Regions from separate parts of the Homo sapiens genome. Here region 2 is linked to region 1. Evidence: promoter capture Hi-C in 16 types of primary human blood cells and fetal thymus (Javierre and others, 2016). All regions are on one chromosome and are shown on one strand. The core of a region is centred on a gene start or on the middle of the fragment in contact, and the rest is flanking DNA. Distances in the headings are between cores, read along the strand shown. Region 1 holds the start of MIR106AHG (miR-106a-363 cluster host gene). Region 2 holds the start of PABIR3 (PABIR family member 3).

Evidence for each region. The method cuts DNA at HindIII sites, captures the fragments that hold promoters and counts their contacts. A CHiCAGO score of 5 or more calls a contact.
Region 2: a fragment that was not itself captured here is called in contact with the fragment with the promoter of MIR106AHG in region 1 in 1 of 17 cell types (total B cells); the score reaches 6.5 in total B cells.

Annotation. Positions count from the first base shown.
Region 1 is chrX:134,171,345-134,178,141 of GRCh38, reverse strand. It overlaps MIR106AHG (miR-106a-363 cluster host gene), which reads left to right and starts at 4,054. Exons shown (of 2, transcript XR_007068340.1): 1 at 4,054-6,473. RefSeq lists a silencer at 2,929-3,223 and an enhancer at 5,182-5,989. The HindIII fragment of the contact is 10,100 bases long and covers 656-6,797 here.
Region 2 is chrX:134,801,591-134,808,933 of GRCh38, reverse strand. It overlaps PABIR3 (PABIR family member 3), which reads right to left and starts at 1,697. Exons shown (of 11, transcript NM_001388447.1): 1 at 1,593-1,697; 2 at 1,226-1,394. The coding sequence starts at 1,335. RefSeq lists enhancers at 1-795, 1,181-1,340. The HindIII fragment of the contact is 1,289 bases long and covers 767-2,055 here.

The DNA of each region.
Region 1 (6,797 bases), core at 2,805-5,304:
AGTAAAGTTTCAAGTAGTAAAATTCATTAGGATTTAAAAAAGTGAGGGATGAGATGGACAGCTCACTCTTTTCTGAAAGAATAAAAATATGCTCAGAGCTCCAAGTAGGGTCATAAATTATATGATTTTAAATAATAAAACTTCATCTTTCCATCTTTGATTTTTAAATCAGTAGTCTTCCTGTTGACTTAGACATCCTTTCAAAAATTTCAAAAGTAAGCTAGATTACATTTGTTTTGAGAAAATAAAATCTCCCCTTTCATTTTAAAAGTAGATGTCCTCTGTAGGCTGTATCTGTTGAAAGATTCCCTTTTACAGTGAGTGTTAGCCCTGTTATTTAGGTTGTTGCAAGCTTTCATTGCAGTCCTTTCAGGCATCTGGATAATTCAACACATTTCACTGCGCCTTCCTCCTCAGCATAAAAAAGGCCAGACAATAGTTCTACTTCCTTCAGCAATCACAAGTCAGGAGACAGTTAAAGAGAATCTCTAAGCTTAGCAGAGTACTACCAAACTAAGGATAAATGTTATCTTTGAGGAGAAAAAAAGAGAGAGGCTCCAAAAAATACCATTTTGCCCTCTTTGCACATAGGTAGTAGAAGATTATCATGCTTTATTTTAGTTATAGCAGACAGAATATTAAATAACTTAAAGCTTCCTAACTTAAAAGCATATTTGTCATCTAGAGTTTTTACTTCTCAATCATGACATTTTCAATAACAGACTTATTGGTGTAAGATTATTAAATAATGAGATAATTTTTAATACCATGATTTACTTGCTTTGGAAGACAATGTTATGGTGATGACGTTTTAGAGACTGTTTTGAATGTAAAACTATATTTTTTATTGTGTTCCGTACCATGACATATTTTCCACTTAGAAAATTTATAATGGTGCAAAGATGGACAAACTTAATCAGAAAAGTGATTGAAAAAAGTGATGTGTGTAAAACATTTCTGGTTTACAGCTTTTTCTTTGATTATAGTATTACAGTCTGCTAGCAATTTTATGGTTTGTAATACCAGAAGTTCCACTTCTAAGGTCACATAAACAGGAAAATCAAAGTGTTTCAAACAGAGTGTAAAAATACCTTTAACACTATTTAATCTTAATAGTGAATCACTTTAATGTCTACTGAGTCTATTCTCAAGGTGGGAGAATTAATTTGAGAAACAATTTTTCTACTGATGGCAAGCAGGTTATTCTTATATCTTTTCAATATTTGCACACATATTTTGATGTAAAATATTTGACATGTAAAAAATATGGTTGTTAGTGAGAGGAAATTGTGTTTTAACATACTACTGAGAAAAGCAAAGACCCACACAACAAGGTAATTTTAAGGCATCACATAATAGCAAAATTAGCTCCATGTTGTAAGTTCTAGTACCAACATATTTCAGCTGAATTATGTGAGATGTAATTTAATTGTATTTTAATTTGATTACTCTTTTGATTTAAAATAAGATTAAATCATTACTAGAGATAAGAAATGTTTGTAAATAGACACTTATTCTAAAAAATCAAAGTTAGCAAAGACCAGCTTGTAAAAGTAAGGTTTACTTACAAGTAAAATTTAGTAAAATGTGTATTTTAAACGTATTTGTATATCAGAAAAGTTGATCCACCTTCTGGTGCCATTTGGTCTTCATAAAATCCTTTGAGATTGGGATAAGTATATTTTTACTTTCTACATTTTTTAAACTAAGTTATATTAACTGTGCATGTTCAATTAGTGAAATTTTCTGCTTCTTATCAAGTGGCAAATCTTTTGAAATTGATATTTCATTCTCATGGACGCTATTTAGTTGAAGATGTATTTATTTTATTTACATGATTTATGTTGGCATATGCTATTGAAAAGAAATAAGATTCAGAAATTCATTACTGACTCTAATTTTTCTCTTTGTTCTGCTGACATAAATTTTCATAAACAAATTAAGGCCTGGTCCAAAAAATTCAAATTTCATTTTTTCAGGCTGATTTGTGTTAGTATGATTGGCATTCAAAAGAAGATTGATTCATCTAAAAACTATGAAATGTTTGCAAATGAAGGAATACTTCGTTTAAAAAATAAAGTTAGTGAAGACCAGTTTTGATAGACTTCTAATGAAATCACAGTTCCTGCTCTAGGATCAAATAGCAAAATAGCATTTGAAATATTTTGTTTGGGATCTTCCGCCTCCATTCTGTTTAGTGAGTGTTCTGATCTGCTGGCTTTGTTTTAGGCCTCATGGGCATGCACATGAGCACATGAACATAAACACACAAATGTAGCAAAACACATATTTCAGTGGGACACTAAACTTCTCATCCTGGGCAAAACCAGAGTGTAACAGACCTTAATTGCAAGTGTAGTTCAAAAATGTAGAGTAGTAAATACACATAGAACAAAAGCTCTATTCTAGTTGTGTGAGGAACATAATACTCTTAAATTACTTTCTGGTTTCCATGGGGACCTTTTTGTTCTAAGATACCAATCATTAGGTTTAACAAAGCCACTTAATATTATTTCTAAATCAAGTAACATGATTTCTCAACTGGGTAAAATGTCAATTTTATTCTTAAAGGTGTTCAAATCCAAACTACTTGAGATTGCTGCTTTATATGGCATAATTAAATCTAGAGGTCAATACAGAAGAATCCCTTCACCCCTTTTCAAGGCAGAGGAAAGCTCAAAGTGGGTCTATTTTGAGGGGAATATTTTGCTGGGCATTCACCGTTTTTCTTTGAATCCATCATAAACTCAAAATAGTGTCAAGAATTTAAAGTTGTGATGAGAATCCTTAGGCTCACGAAAGATAACAAGTTCTCCCTCCCTTTGGCCAGTTTCCATACCTTTCTTACACATTCTGACAGAACATCTGGGCTTTCGTGTAGGCATGTATTCTATATCATATTTACATACATGCGTATATACGCACACCGGCCAGTCTGTTTGGTCATAAATGATGTGACTGGGGGATAGGAGTTGTGGCTCCTTTATTTTGCAGAATGCCTAAGTATTGTTTGTCTCACAATACTGGGAGCGAGCAGGAGCCCGGTGGGAGCCTGGAGCCTTAAGCCCTGGGCTGTGGTCTGGGGGAGGGGACGGGGTTGCGGGGTCACAAGCTCTTTGCTTTTAGCCTCAGCATGACCACAAGTTTTAAAGCATGAAGGGATCACGTGCTTTTCTTTGAGCTGTTAGTTATTCTGACTTTTGGGGGGGGTGTGTGTGAAATGCTTTGTTCTTTAGATTTTTTTGATTCTCTAGGTATTTTGGCCGATGATTAAATTTTTTTTCCAAAAGAAAGAGACAAAAATAAATCATTTGGTGTATCAAAATGTCCTAGTTTCTCATAACCTATATCTTGTACTTAGTTAGTTTTACCTTGTGCTAGACAGGTACTGAGATGGAATAAATTATTTTCGCCAGTTGGGAACTTGATCCAGACATTCTATATGTTGCAAACCCTTAAAAAAAATTAAGAACAAGAAAATATCCTGGTAAAGCAATCTCAAAATACCTTATTCCGGGTATTGTTCTAGCTTTAAAGGGAAGGAGGACTGGGAGGAGGGGTGGGAGATGGGGGGTGGCGAATAGGAAGACTGGGAGGATGTCTTGTTTAATGAACTGCTAAAACTTTTGGAAAATTTTAAGCTAGTGAAGTCCCTCAACACGGTATTTCCATTTGAAAACCTTTACTTAAATATGTCACTCTTGGGGAGTTACTTCTACTTGTTCCCTTTAATAGGATGATTTCATCTTTTCCAACCTTCTTCTGTCTCTCCAACCAAGACACATAGACTCCGAATACCAAATAAAGACTTTTGAAGATAATGAGATTTATTTGGGAACATTTTCCAAAATCAGGGTAATGGGTTTTTTTGTTCTGATGTTGAAGAGGATGAGGATATGTTTACTCATTGACCCGGGAGCTCTGGCTGCAGCTGTAGGACACAATTAATTATGCTAATAGTTTGTGAGGAGCGGATGTAGCTCCCCCAACCCCCCTTTTTTCGAGGGGAGGGGAGTTTGGCAAAAGGGGAAGGAGACGCCCTGGGGTCGGATCACATGATATTATCTTCGCGCCACTTTCGCAAAAACCCTTTTTTTTACTCCAGGTTTTGCTCCAGCTCAAAGGTACTGTTCTTATCTTGCTTTAATACAACGCTTCTTAAAGTCGGGTCTAAGTTCTCTTCCCTCCCCCTCCTCTTCTTTCCACTGCTAGTCGTTACCATTAAAGGTCGAAAGTTGCATTGCAGTCGGTGCAATCTCACAGGAGGGATCTGGTTGGGTAGTAAACTTCGGGCTGCGTAGTTTCCAGAAAGTATCACGCAGACGTGCCAGGGTAGGCTGCAAGGTCTGTTGCATGAAAAAGGGGAGGAAGCCCACCTGTGCGAGTGACTCGCGTTGGAGAAATGATTGTGGTTTTCGTTGCATCCACCGCTGACTCCTGAGGGGCGCTGGCAGTTCAGGTTGGACTCTTTCGCGGGCCAGGGGCGGGAGAGGCCAGTCTTTTGTAATGTTTGCCTGAGCTACTACTGTGCACCAGTGCACCAGGTTGAGAATCACATGGCGCCCTTGTCCTCTTCTGGGCTTTGGGCTGCCACAATCACCCTGGTAACAATGGTGGAAAGGGAGGGGTCCGGCTTCATTTTGCACCCCTTCCCTCCTTCCTTGCCCCCCGCTTGCCTTCCAGGGCTTTCCTCCTCCGACCCAGCGTGCTCACTGGTCTCTGATTTGTAACCTCGTACCCTGCACACCCCCGCCCACCCCCCCAACCCCCGCACGCTCCCCAAATCCCATCTTGCGCCTGTGTCCGCCAGGGACGCGGAGAAGGTATATAGCCCGGTTGTCTCTCATTTTGCCCGGTGTTCAAAGTCTGGTATGCTTAATTCCATTTTGATTGTGCGTCTTAAACTAAGACATCATTTTATTCTACAGAGCGCTGTCGGGCTTTGGCCTTGAAGCAGCCCGCCCTCAATTGGTTCTCATTAGCGGTGGAATGAGAGGAGAAAGCAAGATAATTGCACCGTATCTTCCGCACATTTGCGCGTGTATTCGGTGGCTGCTACCGTTAACGATACCTGCCAAGAAACCCTGATTTAGTGGGTGAAGAGGGCGCCTGGCAAGGGCGAAAGCCTCCCAACAGTAGCACAAGGTGCTAGGGGTTAAAACTTTCACATGTGCAGAGAGTAAGTCGTGTTTCTATTTCTTCCCTCCTCGGGCCTTAGGAACACTTTCAATCTAGCGGCGAGGTGGCGCGCATGCGCGCGCCGGGTGGGGGACACCCCTGTCCCACGGCTCCGTGGGCCTCGTCGTCTGTCTCCGGTGGGGGGCTGAGGCGAGCGCCGCGGGAGCGAGATGGGACAAGGTGGTAGTGAGTGCGCCATCCTGGCCCGGATGCCGGTGGCACCCGCACCGGCTCCGGCCACGGCCTCTGCCTGGGCCGCTGTCCCAGGCGCGCCTTTAATTAAGGACTCCAGCTTGGGGGAAGAGAGAAGGGAAAATGCCGACTGCGGTCCGCCCGTGGGTAACTGGGGCTCGGTGGGGTTTTCGCTTTGGCGGGGTGGGGGTTCCGTTTCCTAATTCCTGTGCGGGCCGGGTGGGCGGGGGCGGGCTTTTTTCCTTGGGCTATTAAAGGCAGAGGGGCGGGCTTTTCCCAGGGATATAGCTACGGACAGAGGGCCAAGGGGACGGAGCGCTCCTCAAGTGGTGGCAGGGAGGCTCGTGGCCCCGCGTCGCTCTGGACAGGGGCGCTTTGGGGTGAGATGTGCGCTCGCGGCCTTGATCCATTTAGTGGACGCTTTTTCTCACTTCTCTTCCCCTTCTGGCTCCGCGGGAGACTGCGCTCGCACCCGGCCCCGGAGCGCTCGAGCTGCGCGCTGGGACACTGGGTATACGTGTGGAGGGGACACCCGGAGAGGGCGGCCCGTGCGGGATCCCCGCGCTCTCCACCTGCGAGGGGCGGGCCGGAGCTGGGTCCCGCGCGCGGTTTCCCGAGCGGGTGGCTGGGCAAGAAGGGAGCCCTTCGTTGGGGCAGCTGTGATCCGGTAGAGTTGACTGGTTGGGTGGGAGGGGACGGAGCGGGCGGGACTTGAGAAAAGCAAAGTACCAGAGTGCGGTTGAGGGGTAGCGGGCAGCGCGCGGGAAACGACTCCCCTTTTCTTCTCCACCGTTGACCTTTAGGTTCCTGGAAAACTTTGGTGGTGAGGGTGTGAAATGAGGGGGTGCACGTGGAGGGAAAAAAGGGACTCCCCTCCCTCTTGGCTTCTATCCCACCAACCCGGGAATGGAGGGGGAGGGAGGCGTGGGCTTGGCGCGTTTTTGGTGCTTTGAATGGAGAACTCCGTTTCCCATGATGCTTTGTTTCTTTCTCTTTAATTTCGGCGGCGGCTGAGGCTGCACGAGGACTGGAGCGCGTGGTGTGAGCAGCTGGAGCACACCCTGGACGCGCGGGCTGCTCGCGGACTTCAACGGGAGCATTAGGTAAGGGTGTGAGAGACGCGGGAAGAGGCAAAAGGGAGCCACAAAGGCGTACAGGGAAGGACTTCTTTCTTTCTTTTCCTTATTATTATTATTATTATTTGCAATTTAAGGGGATTGGAGAGTGACTGCCCAGCGTGCGCGAGGGATGCCAGATGAACCGCTAATTAGCAAAAGGTAGTAACTAGAAGGGCGCCCTGTCTGATGGCTGTGGGGCTCAGTTTGGCCAGGTTGGGTTGGCAAATACTATGCATTTTGAGTCAAGTTTGGAGTATTTTTTTTTTAATGGAAAAGAAATCTTCACAGGTGTAGAAACCCAATTTAAGG
Region 2 (7,343 bases), core at 162-2,661, 630 kb before region 1:
CCCCAAGAACTATTTTCTCTTCCCCTTGGGGGAAGTATCACCCAGTGAGAATGTGTAATTTAGGAGATCAAGCTTCTGTGGTACCAAAACTTTCTGCTCCAATAAAAAATAGGTGTAGGCCAGGAGCAGTGGCTCACGTCTGTAATACCAGCACTTTGGGAGGCTGAGGCAGGCGGATCCCCTGAGGCCAGGAGTTCGAGACCAGCCTGGCCAACATGGTGAAACCCTGTCTCTACTAAAAATACAAAAAATTAGGCCGGGCACGGTGGCTTACGCCTGTAATCCCAGCACTTTGGGAGGCCGAGGCGGGCGGATCACGAGGTCAGGAGATCAAGACCATCCTGACTAACACGGTGAAACCCTGTCTCTACTAAAAATACAAAAAATTAGCCGGGAGTGTTGGTGGGCGCCTGTAGTCCCAGCTACTTGGGAGGCTGAGTCAGGAGAATGGCGTGAACCCGGGAGGTGGAGCTTGCAGTGAGCCGAGATCACGCCACTGCACTCCAGCCTGGGCGACAGAGTGAGACTCCGTCTCAAAAATAAATAAACAAATAAATAAAAAATAAAAATACAAAAAATTACCAGGTGTGGTGGTGGGCGCCTGTAATCCTAGCTACTAGGGAGGCTGAGGCATGAGAATTGCTTGAAGCCAGGAGGCGGAGGTTACAGTAAGCTGAGATCGTGCCAATGCACTCCAGCCTGGGCGACAGAGCAAGACTCCGTCTCAAAAAAAGACAAAAAAAAAAATGTAAAAAAGTCCAAAGCTTATTTGCTTGACAACCATTTCCATTCAAGCGGCTGGAGGTGAAGGTCAGAGGTGACAAAGCAGCTGAAATGACAAATATTACAGTCATGGCAGAAGATCTGGAGGTGAGTGGGGGAGGATACTAAGTTTCTTCAAAGGAGTGGGTAAGAAATGGGTTGAAGTTAGAAAAAAGCCGTGCTCCACACCAACTGGCTGCTACTTTCGGGTCCGAGTGGACTATCAGGGGAGGATGTTCAGATTCAGATGTTTGTCAACCTCAGGGTGGGTGCGCGCTCCCCCTCAGGTCAGCCCGTCCCACTACCCCCACCCAAGGTTGAGGGTGGGATCTCCGGACACCAGGAACAAGGGAGTTACCTGCAGAACCTCAACAAATAAAGGGACGGGAATTCTATAGGAAATCACTTTCCCGAACACCTCCTCCCCACCGCTTGCCTCCTCCAGTATCTCAACCCGGCTCACCCAAGTCCATTGATCAAAGGGGCACTGTTGACTCTTCTCAGAATGTTGCCGTCTGCGGTAGTGGAACTCGGCAGCGACTTGAAACCTAGTTTCATTTTCTCCTGTGCCATGTCCGGGTCGAGGAATAAGTTCTCAAGGCTTTCCGGCTCCCGTCCACACAAGGACAAGTCTACTTAGTGGGCAGGTGATGTAAGGAGAGAGGCAAAGGGGAAAAAGAGAAGAGAGGAGAAAGCTCTTAGGCGAGTAGGGGTGCCCACCTTTGCAGCCCTAGCAGCCCTAACATCAGTGAACACAAAGTTAGGCAGAACTGGCTCCGAACCGCCTATCTCCCATGATCGGGGCCTCTAACGATGAGAAGATCCCCCACCTCCAAGTCTATAATGTAACTGGGGAATTTAATCTGTCACCGCCGCGAATCCTTCTCCATCTCTCTCAGCCCTGGCAACTCATGGTAAGCCTTTCCGGCCAAAACAAAAACTACAATCTGCCGCCTTTGACAATCAGTTGGGTCCCGCCCCTCAGAGCCTGCGATAAGCTATCAGCCGGACGACGCCTGTTGTGATGCAGGCAATGACGTCACTTCAGGCGCCTTAGTCAGCTTTGCCAGGGGCGCACGCGCAGTTAAGAAACCGCTTTATCCCCATGTCCTGCCCTCCTTCCTCTTTCCCCAATGCCCACTTACCGTGGTTGTGCCTCTACTCTTTTACTAACCCTGGCATGGTTTCCTTAAGCATTATTTAGAAATGAAAGCGTTGGGAGGAGTGAGGTCCTTCCTGCCCTATGCCTAATTCTCATTTTTCTTATCCCTTTATGACTGAGGCCAACAAGCTTCTAACCTCCTATGATGCATTTTTCCATCCTGTAACAGCAGACACACTACACCTTTGTAATTTTAGAAAAGCAAAAGTCTGAAAAAAAAAAAAAAAAAAAGATACTGCTACCTAAGTGCTTAGAGGCCACTTGGTCCCAAAGGGTCTTGCTAAGGTGCTAACCTAACTGAGCTCATTTGGCAAACGAATTACTGTTTTCAGTGTGGTTTCTTTCTTTCTTTTTTAAACCATAATCGTACAGTTTTTTGTTTTTTTTTTTTTGAGATGGAATTTCGCTCTTGTTGCTCAGGCTGGAGTGCAGTGGCCGCGATCTCGGCTCACTGCAACCTCCACCTCCCAGGTTCAAGCGATTCTCCTGCCTCAGCCTCCCGAGTAGCTGGGATTACAGGTGCTCGCCACCACGCCTGGTTAATTTTTGTATTTTAGTAGAGACGGGGTTTCACCATGTTGGCCAGGCTGGTCTCGAACTCCTGGACCTCAGGTGATCCGCCCGCCTCGTCCTCCCAAAGTGCTGGGATTACAGGCGTGAGCCACCGCGCCTGCCTCAGTGTGTATTTTTACATTATATATAATCTGGCTCCTCACAGCTATTCATATAAAAAATAAAGACCTCAGCTAATTTACAAAGATTTGAGTTAAAGCAGTGAGGCTTTTTTAAAAACAAATATCTCAGAATTTAGTATCAATGCAAATCAGTGTTTTCATTTCAGGTAGTATTAGAAGCTACATACATTCTAAGAATGCTGCCATGGCTCATATCGTTTTAAGAACTACTCTTTTAGAAATTTTCACCATCACTTAATGAGCCACACTGAGTACTGAAATCTTAACTCCATGCTAATAATTTTGTAAAACCACACATTTTAGTAACCATATAGAGAACTGGCAGACAAGGCAAATAAACCTAGTGAAATGGGAGTTATTAATTAAAATAGTCATAACACTGGTATAGCACTTTACGGATAACATTTTTTTTTTTTTGAGACGGAGTTTCGCTCTTGTTGCCCAGGCTGGAGTGCAATGGCGCAATCTTGGCTCACCACAACCTCCACCTCCCTGGTTCAAGCGATTCTCCTGACTCAGCCTCCAGAGTAGCTGGGATTACAGGCATGTGCCACCACTCCCAGCTAATTTTGTATTTTTAGTAGAGATGGGGTTTCTCCATGTTGGTCAGGCTGGTCTCGAACTCCCGACCTCAGGTGATCCACCCGCCTCGGCCTCCCAAAGTGCTGGGATTACAGGTATGAGCCTCCACGCCTGGCCTACAAAATGTTTTCACATACTTATCTGGATTGGTTCAATCATCAACCCTGCTCAGCTACCCAGTGGTGAACTTAAAATAATGGGACAGTCTTGAGATAGTTCGTGACAAGTTATGACATGTAAGGTAATAAATATGTATTCTTTGTTCATTCTGGGAATAGAATAAGACAAACTTGAGTATATTAGGCAGAATTAGATTACTTAAATCCCAGACATGAGGATGATGTGGAGTCTCCATTCCTTATATAAGACAGATTAGTAATAGCTACCGTTTGTTGGGCACTTACTATGTGCCAGGTACTGTCCTAATCACTTTAAATAGGTGATTGCATTTAAAGTTTACAATAATTCTTTGAGGTAGGCACCATCACAATGCCCATTTTTCACAGGAGGAAACCAAAGCCCAGAGGGGTTTACTCAAGTTGCAACTACTAAGTGGCAAAGCCAAGATTCCTCTGCCCTTCTGTTTAAGTAAAAAAAAAAATGAGATGCCTCAGAATATCTCCTTGAATTTCTGTACTCATAAGCACTTGATAAATACTTCTGAAATTATTTTATGAATAAATGCAGGTTTAAATAGCCTATCTTTCATAGTTATCTTGTAAAGTAGGTAAATCATTTCTATTTTACAGTTGGATAAAATTCCAAAGAGATTAATGGCACATAATTAGATAGCAGGAGAATTCAGGCTAGTATCAAGATGTCCTAAAAGCCACTGTTAAAATTCCCAGGGTACCTGAACGTTTATAAAAGATGGTGGTTAAAGCTGAGTAAATTCAGGATGAATGCAGAAGGCAGTGATTAAAGACAGAACAGAGTCAAAAAACAAATTGTCTGAATAACAGAAAAATATGAAGCAGGCCAGTGAACAAGGGAATCTTACCTCCATTGTGTTCATTTTAATTTTCAACTTTTGCTAGTATTCTTGGCAGGTAGTAAGGTTTCATACGTATATTTTGAATAAATAGACAAAATTTCATCCTGCCTAAGCATTACAAGTATCTAATTTTTAAATAAGTACAACAACACTAAGAAAATAGGTATAATAAAATGACAAGGGAAGAGTGACTAAGGGACTATGTTTCTAAGAAAAGGAGTAATATGAAATAACTAAATATATGAGATGGTAATAAGTTTACAGCTATTATCAAAGAGAAGGAGCTCTCTTTTACAAAAGAACAGCTACATGTCAGGAACCCCAAACCTGTAAAGATATAAATAGGACTCATAGTACATACACAAATTGGAATATCAAAAGGAACAAGTAATACAAAAACAGCAAGAATTCTATATGCTACAATGGCAAACACAACATTAAAGAAATTGTTTTTACTTCTCCCCATTTCTACGCACACATTATTATACCAACCTAGCTGTGTTTCTTGATCAGTCCTTCCAGTTCCAGGGAAATATGCCATGATCTTGGGACACTGCTTTTGTTAGATCTAGACTTGACAATTAGGCTACTCCTCTCTTTGCATATCCCAGTCTGCTGCGTCTGTCCCAGGCCCTCACCTATAAAAGGGAACCAACAAACATGTGATAATCAGCTCTTTATTTTACCAGTTGTCATGACAACCTTGAAGCTACGTTGTAACCTTTAGTTACCACAAGAGCAAGTCAAATACAAGTCAAACCCAAATCTACAAACCACAAACACCCCAAACCTTCCCAAAAGATTTACATGAAAGGTTAAAAAAAAAAAAAAAACTAGCAGGCAAGAATGATGTTAATAAAACCTAGAAATGATGGCCAAAGTAGCATTATTCTCCTCGCGTTCTCCTAAATTGTTAAGCTCCTGAGGTCAGTGCATGCATGTGGTCAACAAATGATTGTTTAGTAGCTATTGTGAACAAAAGAATGTATTATAATTTCTTTTGAGCAGGGAGTAGGAGGTGGGGCTGGCCTTAAGGGTTGCTGAGACCTTGAGATAAAAAGAGATACCTAAGTTGCTCAAAAACAGAGGTTGTTGTTTCTAATCTAGCTGGGAGAAAAATACAGGCAATTTAAAGGAAACTATCTAAAAGTACTTACAAATCCCTCATACTGCAGGCAGAAAGCATAAACAGTGAGGAATAAAATGATAATTGGCCTTGGCAAGTTTAGTATGGGATAATTGAAAAGAGGCAGGCAAAATTATTATTTCTGGCTGAATTTTGAAAGCAATTTCAGAACTATTACATTTCAATGCAATGGCCTTCTCTTCCCCAGGGCCATTCAAGTGGTGAGGATTAAAAGAGTTTGTGGAGTCCTGATAAGATAAGTAAGAAACAATGAGAAAGGGGCCCCAGGTGGGGAAGAACAATGAAAAATTGTTCTGAGAGACCTAGGGCACAAAGACCTCCTTCCACATGTGGCCCCAGCAGCATGACTTGTTTCCACATGCAGCCCCCTCCAGCTCCCTCCAGCCCCTGCCTCTTTGCAGACAGCTCCTCCTCTGCAGTGCTGCCCTTTGCCTCCTTGCAACATACTTCCATACCTTCTCTAGTAAATCTGCCTTTCTTTACCTACAACTGTCTTGGTCAATTCCTTTACCACCTGCGCCACTGGCCAGCTGCACCTGCAACATTTTGGTAGTTCGTATGGGCCTCTCCCCTACTTTCTCCCTTTCCTCCAATTCCAACCTCTCGTTGGACAGTGTCAAAACCCTGAGATAATTTTAAGTCCCTGGCCGGGGCTGCTCCCCAGGGAACCAGAAGGTCCTGGTGGAAAGACACCAGACTGCTGTCCCACGATTCTGTGAGACTTCAGAATTTGCTTTACTTTTCAGTCTTCCAGAGGACAAATTCTAGTATCCCTCTGGCAATTGATGGCAACTGGTCAGGGCCATTTCCTGGTGTGGCCTCAAGGCCAGCGGGTGTGAACAGGTTTGGCTGCCTTGCCTAGAAGGGAAGAAGGCCCTCTCCTATCTCTTCTGGCGAAAAGGTCTGCAATCCCTATGTAGTGCAATTGGCACATATGTTTTGGGGAGCTCAGAGCCCCTCTTTCTTACTCTAAATAGTCCTGCAAAAACAGCCAGACCTCCTGCTCTGGACGTTCCCAAATTAGGTGATAGCAAGCAGCCTCAGAGCAGTGAGTCTCCCCATTCTGGTCCTCTCTCCTGGGATGGGACCAGGCTGAGTTCTTCCTTTACCCTTTTTCCTTGTACCGGGGCTAACCATCCAGCGTAAGGCCCCAGCGCTGAGATGTCCTTTCTAATAGGTGGGATGCCCCTTTAGAGAGTGCACTTGAGGCCGGGCACGGTGGCTCATGCCTGTAATCCCAGCACTTTGGGAGGCCGAGGTGGGTGGATCACCTGAGGTCAGGAGTTCAAGACCAGCCTGGCCAACATGGCGAAACCCCATCTCTACTAAAAATACAAAAAATTAGCTGGACGTAGTGGTGCATGCCTGTAATCCCAGCTACCTGGGAGGCTGACACAGGAGAATCGCTTGAACCTGGGAGGCGGAGGTTGCAGTGAGCCGAGATCCCACCACTGCACTCCAGCCTGGGCGACAAAGCGAGATTCCATCTCAAAAGAAAAGAAAAGAAAGTGCACTGGAATCCCTCAGCAGATGTGAGTTGAGCCCTCTTCCTGGTGGGGCAGGGGGGTGGGGGCGGCGAGAGAGTGTGGTTCGTGTCTGCAGCAGACGTTAGTCCCCGGCAGCTCATCGTTTTCCAGTCCCACCATGGGACAAACCTCCTCTATTCCGTCAGACTCACCTATGAGTTGCATCCCAAAACGCTGAGACAAATGTAACCCTCAGATTAAAAAAAAAAAAAAAGTCGAATTTTCTTTTGTAATACAGCATGGCCCCTATGCAGAAAACCTCAAATCAGTCTCCTCAGTCTTTTATAACCAAGAGCAGGATAAGGACAGGGCTAAGGAGAAAGAAAAATGCAGGGACAAGAAGCAGGCTCAACTGTTGGCTGCTTTGCAAGCCCCCAGCCTCCATTCCAGGCTGCCCTAAGGATACTCCTCCAGATAACTGCCATCAGTGCAGAAGCCCAGGCCACTGGAAGGCAAACTGGCCCTATGGCATGAA